Regions from separate parts of the Homo sapiens genome. Here regions 1 and 3 are each linked to region 2. Evidence: promoter capture Hi-C in 16 types of primary human blood cells and fetal thymus (Javierre and others, 2016). All regions are on one chromosome and are shown on one strand. Each heading gives the region's core, a stretch centred on a gene start or on the middle of the fragment in contact. The rest is flanking DNA. Distances are from core to core; before and after follow the strand shown.

Region 1 (3,413 bases), core at 730-3,229, 76 kb before region 2:
GGTGTGCAACTAGGGGACGGGGTACTTGTTCCCTTTTCCCTTCCTCAACCAGAGGGGAGTGAACACAGAGGAGGGGCTGTTGGGAGCAGTCCCCACATCCTCTCCACTCTGTCTAGCTGGCCCTGGGGGAGGAGGAGAATTTTTAATAAAATATAAGGAAGTTGAAGTTGAAAATGGACCAGACTATGCCTTAGAAACTGGCATGGGGCTGTTGTAATAATACATGACTGAGAAGTCAGGAGATCTGACCAAAATGTTTTTAAGAAAGCCTTCTGGCCAGACGCGGTGGCTCACGCCTGTAATCCCAGCACTTTGGGAGGCCGAGGAGGACGGAGCACGAGGTCAGGAGATCGAGACCATCCTGGTTAACACGGTGAAACCCCGTCTCTACTAAAAATACAAAACATTTAACCGAGCGTGGTGGCGGGCGCCTGTAGTCCCAGCTACTCAGGAGGCTGGGGCAGGAGAATGGCATGAACCTGGGAGGCGGAGCTTGCAGTGAGCCGAGGTCGCGCCACTGCACTCCAGCCTGGGTGACAGAGCGCGACTCCACCTCAAAAAGAAAAAAGAAAGCCTGCTGCAGTCCAGGCATGGTGTTTCACGCCTGTAATCCCAGCACTTTGGGAGGCCGAGGCAGGCGGATCACTTGAGGTCAGAAGTTCGAGACCAGCCTGACCAGCATGGAGAAACCCTGTCTCTACTAAAAAAACAAAAATTAGCCAGGCGTGGTGGCAGGCACCTGTAATCCCAGCTACTCAGGAAGCTGAGGCAGGAGAATTGCTTGAACTCAGGAGGCAGAGGTTGCACTGAGCCAAGATCATGCCATTGCACCCCAGCCTGGGCCACAGAGTGAGACTGTTGCCGGGTGGAGTGGCTCACACCTGTAATCCCAGCACCTTCGGAGGCCAAGGCAGGCAGATCACTTGAGGTCAGGAGTTCGAGACCAGTCTGACCCACATGGTAAAACCCCGTCTCTACTAAAAATACAAAAATTAGTCAGGCATGGTGATGCTGGCCTGTAATCATAGCTACTCGGGAGGCTTGAGGCAGGAGAATTGCTTGAACCCAGGAGGCGGAGGTTGCAGTAAGCCAAGATCGCACCACTGCACTCCAGGCTGGACGACAGTGAGACTCCGTTCCAAAAAAAAGAAAAAAGAAAAGAAAGCCAGCTGCCCAGCAGAATTGGGGAAAGCCGAGTCAGTTGAAGCAGACAATACCCCTATGGGAGGCAGAAGAATGCACCCCCCTACCAAGATATCCACATCCTAACCCCTCCAAACCTGTATGTTGCCTTAAGTGGCAAAGGGGACTTTGCACATGTGGCTATGTGAAGGATCCTGAGCTGGAGAGATTAGCCTGGATTATCCAGGTGGATCCCATATAATCACAGGGCTCCTTAGAAGGGAGAAGACGCTGTGACCATGGAGGCAGAGGTCGGATTGAGACAGCCAAGGATCACAGGCACCTCTCCAGCCGGGAAAAGCAAGGAACACACTACCCTGGCGCCTCCAGAAGGCACAGCCCCACCCACACCTTGATTCTGGCCCTGTAGGACCCATCTGAGACTTCTGGCCTCCAGGGCTGTAAGATAACACATTTGTGTTAAGCCACTAGGTTTGTGGTGATCTGTTAACAGCGGCATGAGGAAACTAACACAACCCCAAGGAGGTGAGCCTCTCCCCACAGCCCCGACTCAACCGGAAGGGAGAGGTGTGCAGAAGACGGCTTTGCAGGATGTTTGGGACAAATGGTCTCTGGGGGAAGACAGAAGCTAACAGAACTGATTCGACTGTGTGAACAGGGTGCTGGGAGGGCCCACAGGGGAGGGACTTCAGAGCTGGGCCTGCGCCTGCGGGGCCGTACGAGTTGGCCCGGAGCAAGGCGGCCCAGGACAGGCAGGGGCTGCACGCGGTAAGGCTCCCTCTTGCCAGTACCATCCCATGAGCAGCCTCAGAGCCCTCGACCAAGGGAAGTTCTGAGGGCTGAGAGGTTGCTCATTCGTCAGAGCGTGCTGCCCACCCTCCACCCCTGCATGGCAGAAACTGTGCAGGGGACGAGGCCAAGGAATCAGGAGACCCAGAGGCAGGGGTGGCCCGGAGACGGTGGGATGGAGCAGAAGCTCCCCGAAAGGGGTTGGCGGGGTGGATTCGCCCCGCTCCAGCCGGCGGAGGAAGGAAGTGGTTCCCCCGCCCACCCTTCCCTTAGGCTGGCCCGGGGCAGGATTTTTGTGATCCGCGATTCGCTCCCACGGGCGGGACCTTTGTAACTGCGGGAGGCCCAGGACAGGCCCACCCTGCGGGGCGGGAGGCAGCCGGGGTGAGGGAGGTAGGGACGAACGGGTGGACTGACCACAGGCAGGGACAAGGGGACTAAGACCCGGGCCGAGGCCTAGAAGCCCGCCGACCGTTGGGGGTCTGCGGGCTGTGGGGGCGGGGACGGGGGCGGGGGCGGCCCGGGCGGGGGCGGGGCCTGGTACGGTACGGGGCGGGACGGGCTGGGCCGGACCTGCTCTGAGGCTCCCAGTCGCAGCGGTGACCGCGGGCGGGTGGGGCGCCGGGTAAGTGCTCGGGCCGGGCGGGGGGCGTACCCCGTTTGGCGTGCAGCCCTTTCTACAAGACCCCCAGTGCCCGATCCTTCCGAGAAGAGGGGACCCCCCCCCGCATCTCCGCTGTCCAGGCCTCGCCGTGGAGCCCCAGCAGGACCCCAGCCCTCGGTTGCCCTCGGCTCTGGCGTGTCCCGGCGCGGGCGGGCAGTGCTTCCCCTCGGCAGGGACTGGAGTCCAGGGGAGGGGAACGCGGGAGACGCTGGCCCTAGTGACCCCCCGATCCCGGAGAGTTGGTGGTGCGCGCCGCCCTGGGCCAGGTGCCTTCAGTTCTTCACACTCCGCGCAGCAGCCACAGGTGACCATCGTCGTCTCCCTCTTAACAGGTGAAGAAACCAAGACGCAGAGAGGCCAAGCCCCTTGCCTTGGGTCACACAGCCAAAGGAGGCAGAGCCAGAACTCACAACCAGGTCTGTGTCCCCTAAGTCCTCGGATGCATCGTCCCTGCCCCGCTGCCCTCCCGGGAGATTGTAGGAGAGAAGCAGGGGCAGAGGCAGTGCTGGATGTCCCGGGAGAAGGCTGCAATGAGCAGGCCCAGCCATCCCTGAAGGAGGAGCCCCGGGGAAGCAAACTCTTCCCTAGAAACACTTTAAAAGCACCCACCTGTTGGAGACAGAGATGCTGAGGAACAAGAGTGATTGGGGCCAGGGTAAACGCCAAGACAGAGAGGGGAGAGCAGTTCCTCAGTGGAACTCCCTCCAACATTGCCCCCACCACTTTTACCAGTGCTGGGTGTGGGGGATCTTGCAGGCTCAGCTTCGTGACTTGGCCTGTCTCTGCCTCAGTTTCCGCATCTGTCCCATGAGGTTAA
Region 2 (3,444 bases), core at 491-2,990:
AGTTCAAGATCTCAGCTGATGACTTTTTTACTTACTAATACTGAGCCTTAATCAATTTGAGAAAAGATCTTCTTAAGAAGGGATAGGCTGGGCACAGTTGTTTACACCTGTAATCCCAGCACTTTGGAAGGCCAAGGTGGGAGGATCACTTGAGCCCAGGAGTTTGAGATCAGCCTGAACAACATAGCGAGATCTCATCTCTACTAAAAATAAAAAAATAAAAAAAGCAAGCTGGGGGAGCACGCCTGTGGTTCCAGCTACTCTGGAGGCTGAGGCAGAAGGATCCCTTGAGCCCAGCAGATTGAGACTTAAGTGAGATATAATCACGCCACTGCACTCCAGCCTGGGTAACAGAGCGAGACCTTGTCTCAAAAACAAAAAAAGAATAAAAAAAGATTAAAAGTACTGCATATCTATTGGGGTTACTCTCAATTCACACAATCGGAAAATTTTAAAAACTTTTTTTGAGATCATGAACCACTTTAAGAATCGGCTGCTATGAACTCTCATCTCAGGAAAAGGCATATTCACAAAGTTTTGCACTCAATCTTAGCGGGTCACAGTCATTCAGTGAAGTCATCCATGTCAATTTTTTTTTTTGAGACAGTCTTGCTCTGTCGCCCAGTCTGGAGTGCAGTGGTAATTACTGCAACCTCTGCCTCCTGGGTTCAAGCGAGTCTCCTGCCTCAGCCTCCCGAGTAGCTAGGATTACACCATGCCCGGCTATTTTTTCTATTTTTAGTAGAGACTGGGTTTCGCCATTTTGACCAGACTGATCTTGAACTCCTACCTCAAGCAATCCACCCGAGTTGACCTCCCAAAGTGCTGGGATTACAGGCGTGAGCCACGGCGCCAGCCAAACGTCAAATTAGATTATAAAATATTTCCACTAAATGTGTAATTCTAGAATTAATCATTTTCTGAAAAAAATGTTAATTATCCCTACATATGACTCCTAAGAAGTGAGCATAACCCCTCCCTCAATAGCTTTCCACCTCCAATTCAACACAGGAGGAATCCTGGGTTTTTAGAATTCAGGTCAACAGAGAAGGGTCTTAACATAGTCACATTTAGTAAGATAGACCTTTGGCCTCTCTTTAAGTGAAAGTTCAGTGCAGCCAAGGCACTAATTTCCACCATTGTCTCGACTTAATTTCGTCTTGGGCTGCAAGAATTCATTATTGCTCTTTGCATCACTGTTGTCTGGGACCACTTCAAGTATTTTCAAAGGTTTGATACCGTTCCACTTAAACTCTGAGACCCGGTTTTCTCATTTACCTGACAGTGATAGTAACAGCTACTTCTCAGGGTTATTGTTTAGAGAATGGACGTTTATGGAACACTCAGCAGTGTCTGCACACAGTAAGTGCTCAATAAGAGTTAGCTATCATTATTACGTCCTCACCGGGGCTGTCCCCTTGAGGTTGGATCACTGTGGACTCCAGGAGCTGGCACATGGTACCCACCGTCCGTGACTGGGGTAGGCCTGGGGCCGGAGGAGGGCCCTGGAGCCCTGGGAGTCCCGGGGGGCCTGGTCGACGGGAAAGTTCCGAAGGTGGCCAGGGCTGCCTCGGTGGAGTTGAGGCCCTCTGTCGTCACCGCCGGGGTGGCATCGGTCTGGGCGCTCACGGAGGCCCAGCAGCCCAGGAGCACCACCAGGAGCGGCGGGAGACCTCGCGGCCTCATCTCCCAGGGAGTCCCAGCGAGGCCCGCGACATGGACAGCGCGTTGCCCGGCAACCGCGACAGCCAGGCGCGGGGCATCACGGGAAGGGGCTTGCGAAGCCGCGAGAAGCTGCCGGAGACTGACTGGGGCGAAGCCTGGATGAGGCAGGGGGCGGATCCCGGATGAGGCCGGAGGGCGGCGCCTGGGTGAGGCAGCGATGGCAGGCACAGGGGCGAGCACTAGTGAGCGGGTGTGAAGCTGGCGTAAACGAGGGGCGTGTAAATCCCGGCTGTGGTTTCCAACCGGTCCGCGGCGCTTGCTTAAAAAATGCAGATTTTCTGTAGTTCCAGCTACTCGGGAGGCTGAGGCAGAAGAATCGCTTGAACCCGGGAGGTGAAGGCTACAGAGAGCCGTGAGCGTGCCACTGCACTCCAGCCTGGGCGACAGTGTGACACTCTGTCTCAACCAAAAAAAAAAAAAAAAAAAAAAAAGACGGATTTCCAGGTACCACCTCAGGAGATCCTGAGTCAGTTAGTCTAGGGCAGGACCCAGGAATCAGTTTTTGGGGGATTTTTTTTGAGACAGGGTCTCACTCTGTCGCCCAGGCTGGAGTGCAGTAGCGCGATCTCGGCTCACTGCAGCCTCGACCTCTGGGACTCAAGCAATCCTCCCACTTCAGCCTCCTGAGTAGCTGGGAACTCAGGCGCGCGCCACCATACCCAGCTAATTTTTGTATTTTTTTTTTTTTTTTTTTTTTTTTGTAAAGACGAGGTCTCCCTCCGTCGCCCGGACTGGTATCGAACTCCTGGTTCAAGTGATCCACCTGCTCCAGCCTCCTGAGTCCTGAGTAGTTGGGATTACAGGCGTGAGCCACCACTCCCAGCCAGGAATAAATATTTTTAACAAATGTCCGGACGCAAGCAGATGAGTTGGACGGAAATTTAGGAAGCGCCGTCCCAACGCCACTAACGTGGGTGTTTGGAAGGAGCACAGGGATCTGTGAGATCACTGTCTCTGAATTTTCTCTATCCCAGACTCTGTCAACACTGGCTTCACCTTTTTATTTTAGCTGCATCTCACAAGGTTGCCAGATAACTTCTGTCTGCTGTATTGTGATAAAGGGGACAAATGAACACTTAATACCTTTTATTATTTTTTGTAGAGAGGGGGTCTCACTATGTTGATCAGGCTAGTCACAAACTCCTGGCCTCAAGTGATCCTCCCGCCTCAGCCTCCCAAAGAGCTAGGATTACAGGCATGAGCCACCACGCCAGGCCTAAGAACCTATTTAAAGACAAAAATCTTTTACAAAAATTAAGTAAAATAATTTAGACATCTTAAAGGGGAAAACAAAGCAAATCCACTGTAATGCTACAAAACGACCTGGAGACCCTACGATTTAGGAAACCCTCTCCATTCTGAATGGGCTTATTTAGGAGGTACCCAAGCCCAAGAATGTTGGCTGCACCTTTGACACTTAATCTCCATACAGTTCAGAAGTAGATGTCGAAGTACTTAGACGTGGCCAGGCACAGTGGCTCACACCTGTACTCCCAGCCCTTTGGGAGGATCGCTTGAGTCCAGGAGTTGAGACCAGCCTGGGCAACATGGTGAAACCACATCTCTACAAAAAATACAAAAATTAGCCAGGTATGGTGGCACATTCCTGTAGTCCCAGCTACTCAGGAGGCTGAGGTGGAAGGATCGCCTCAGTCTGGAGAGCTTGAGGCTGCAGTAAGCCATGATAGTGCCACTGCACTCCAAAACAAAAAAACCTTA
Region 3 (3,439 bases), core at 495-2,994, 93 kb before region 2:
TTCACATCTTTATCCATGGGATTCTCTGCGGCCTGAATTGAAGTTGAGCTCCTCCAGAGAAGATCAGAGTTTGCCTCTGCTGGTAGACTGGGGCAGTATCAACCTAGACTTTAAATCCTCACTTGCTCACTTGACATTTTTCTTTTCTTTTCTTTTTTTTTTTTTTTTTTGAGATGGACTCTCGCTCTGTCACCCAAGCTGGAGTGCAGTGGTGCGATCTCAGCTCACTGACTGCAACCTCCACCCCAGATTCAAGCAATTTTCCTGTCTCAGCCTCCCAAGTAGCAGGATTTACAGGTGTCTGCCACCATGCCCGGCTAATTTTTGTACTTTTAGTAAAGGCGGGGTTTCACCATGTTGGCCAAGCTGTTCTCGAGCTCCTGACCTCAAGTAATCTGCCTACCTTGGCCTCCCAAAGTGCTGGGATTACAGGTGTAAGCCACCATGCCCAGACCCACTTGACATTTTTCAGATCATACAAGTCTCATGAAATTAGGCCACAAACCTGCAGATCCTGGTTGTGAATTCTCAGGAGAAAATTGTTTTGCCAAGAGTAATGGAGATCCCATTGGTAATAACTGTAATATTTTCATTGTGCATGTGTTTGTTTTGATGAATAAACATTGGAGTCATATATATCTTTCAGCCATGAGAGAACTTTCTGAGTTGCTAATAGTTTCTAAACAATATAGATAGATGGGTGAGATTCCATTTAAGCTTTCTATTCCTTTAAGAGCCAATTGTTGTAAAGAAGTAGGAAACTAACTCAAAACTATACTAAGGTTTTCTGCAAACTATGCAGCTCAACCTAGCTGTTACAGAAGCAGGGTACCCCTTTCTGTAGTGAGTTGGTGGATTCATGTAGCTAGTTACACTGGCACCCCAGTCTACAGAAGCCCACAGGGGCAGCTTCTGGAAGCTGTTGCTTCTCTTGAGAGGCCATACTGGGCAGTGGTTAAAGCCTGGGGTTTGCAGCCAGTGGCCCAGGTGGGAATCCTGACTCTTGCATTCTGGTTGTGTGTGACCTTGGGCAAATCCCTTAATCTCCCTGTGCCTCAGTGCTTCCCTTGTAAAACAGGGATAGCAGCATCTGACTTCAAGCTATGCTACAAGGTTATAGTAACCAAAACAGCATGGTACTGGTACCAAAACAGATATATAGACCAATGGAACAGAACAGAGGCCTCAGAAATAACACCACACATTTACAACCATCTGACCTTTGACAAACCTGACAAAAACAAGAAATGGGAAAAGGATTCCCTATTTAATAAATGGTGCTGGGAAAACTGGCTAGCCATATGCAGAAAGCTGAAACTGGATCCCTTCCTTACACCTTATACAAAAATTACCTCAAGATGGATTAAATATTTCAGTGTAAGATCTAAAACCATACAAACCCTAGAAGAAAACCTAGACAATACCATTCAGGACATAGGCATGGGCAAAGACTTCATGACTAAAACACCAAAAACAATGGCAACAAAAAAAGCCAAAATAGACAAATGGGATCTAATTAAACTAAAGAGCTTCTGCACAGCAAAATAAAATATCAGCGTGAACAGGCAACCTACAGAATGGGAGAAAATTTTTGCAATCTACCCATCTGACAAAGGGCTAATATCCAGAATCTACAAAGAACTTAAATTTACAAGAAAAAACCCCATCAAAAAGTGAGCAAAGGATATGAACAGACACTTCTCAAAAGAAGACATTTGTGCAGCCAACAGACGCATGAAAAATGCTCATCATCACTGGTCATCAGAGAAATGCAAATCAAAACCACAATGAGATACCATCTCACACCAGTTAGAATTGCGATCATTAAAAAGTGAGGAAACAACAGGTGCTGGAGAGGATGTGGAGAAATAGGAACACTTTTACACTGTTGGTGGGACTGTAAATTAGTTCATCCATTGTGGAAGACAGTGTGGCGATTCCTCAAGGATCTAGAACTAGAAATACCATTTGACCCAGTGATCCCATTACTGGGTATATACCCAAAGGATTATAAATCATTCTACTATAAAGACACATGCACACATATGTTTACTGCAGCACTACTCCCAATAGCAAAGACTTGGAACCAACCCAAATGTTCATCAATGATAGACTGGATTAAGAAAATGTGGCACATATACACCATGGAATGCTATGCAGCCATAAAAAGGATGAGTTCATGTCCTTTGAAGGGACATGGATGAATCTGGAAACCATCATTCTCAACAAACTAACACAGGAACAGAAAACCAAACATTGCATGTTCTCACTCGTAAGTGGGAGTTGAACAATGAGAACACATGGACACAGGGTGGGGAACATCACACACAGGGGCCTGTCGGGGGGTGGGGGGTTGGGGGAGGGATAGCATTAGGAGAAATACCTAATGTAAATGTCGAGTTGATGGGTGCAGCAAGCCAACATGGCACATGTATACCTATGTAACAAACCTGCACATTGTGCACATGTACCCTAGAACTTAAAGTATAATAATAATAAAAAAATAGGGATAGCAGCATCTATATCAATGGTTACTCTGAGACTAAATAAATTAGTACATGGAAAGAACCCAGACACATAATAGGCAGCAAATATTAGGTATTATTTTTATTGTTTGACTATTTCCTGCCACCAAATCCAGGTAGCACTGATGAAAGGTGTAAAACACAGTAACAACAAAACAAGAACTCCATCCCCCTACCATCATGTAGCTGATAGTTTGCTAAAAGCACAGTTAGGAAATTCTGTTCCACAGAGATCCACAAGCTTTCCAGAAGTAACACAGAGCCAACTAGGAAACTGAAGGAAAAGTAATTTCTTTTTTTCCTTTTTTTTTTTTTTTTTTTTTTTTTGAGGCAGAGTCTCGCTGTCACCCAGGCTGGAGTGCAGTGGCACGATCTCGGCTCACTGCAAGCTCCGCCTCCCAGGTTCATGCCATTCTCCTGCCTCAGCCTCCCGAGTAGCTGGGACTACAGGCGCCCTCCATCACGCCTGGCTAATTTTTTGTGTTTTTAGTAGAGACATGGTTTCACCGTGTTAGCCAGGATGGTCTTGATCTCCTGACCTCATGATCCACCTGCCTCGGCCTCCCAAAGTGCTGGGATTACAGGCGTGAGCCACCGCGCCCAGCCAGGAAAGTAATTTCATGCAGTCAACAAATCAATTACTGGTTCTTTTTGAAACAGGGTCTCACTCTGTCTCCCAGGCTGGATTGCCCTGGTGCACTCACAGCTCACGGTAGCCTTGATGTCAAGCGATCCTCCTACCCTCCCACCTCAGCCTCCCAGATTCTTTTCTTTTCTTTTAGCATATTTTAACATTTTAAATTAATTTTTTAATAAATGTTATAGCATGTAAATCATGGTTTAAAGATCCAAATACTCCTATGCATGGAGTGGGGGCAAAGGGTATATGAGAAATCTCTGTACCTTCCTTTCAA

Evidence for each region. The method cuts DNA at HindIII sites, captures the fragments that hold promoters and counts their contacts. A CHiCAGO score of 5 or more calls a contact.
Region 1: a fragment that was not itself captured here is called in contact with the fragment with the promoter of TCTN1 in region 2 in 2 of 17 cell types (total B cells and naive B cells); the score reaches 10.8 in total B cells.
Region 3: a contact is called between a fragment that was not itself captured here and the fragment with the promoter of TCTN1 in region 2, in 2 of 17 cell types (total B cells and naive B cells). The highest score is 14.1, in total B cells.

Annotation. Positions count from the first base shown.
Region 1 is chr12:110,688,224-110,691,636 of GRCh38, reverse strand. HVCN1 (hydrogen voltage gated channel 1) reads left to right here and starts at 2,522. Exons shown (of 8, transcript NM_032369.4): 1 at 2,522-2,557; 2 at 2,929-3,012. RefSeq lists enhancers at 802-951, 1,482-1,591, 1,712-1,761, 3,012-3,061 and silencers at 2,202-2,271, 2,332-2,831. The HindIII fragment of the contact is 8,396 bases long and covers 1-3,413 here.
Region 2 is chr12:110,612,425-110,615,868 of GRCh38, reverse strand. It overlaps TCTN1 (tectonic family member 1), which reads right to left and starts at 1,740. Exons shown (of 15, transcript NM_001082538.3): 1 at 1,467-1,740. The coding sequence starts at 1,686. RefSeq lists an enhancer at 1,414-1,463. The HindIII fragment of the contact is 6,908 bases long and covers 1-3,444 here.
Region 3 is chr12:110,705,582-110,709,020 of GRCh38, reverse strand. It overlaps a transcript of PPP1CC not described here. Among named protein-coding and RNA genes, the nearest start is that of HVCN1, 18 kb to the right of the region's middle. The HindIII fragment of the contact is 2,049 bases long and covers 720-2,768 here.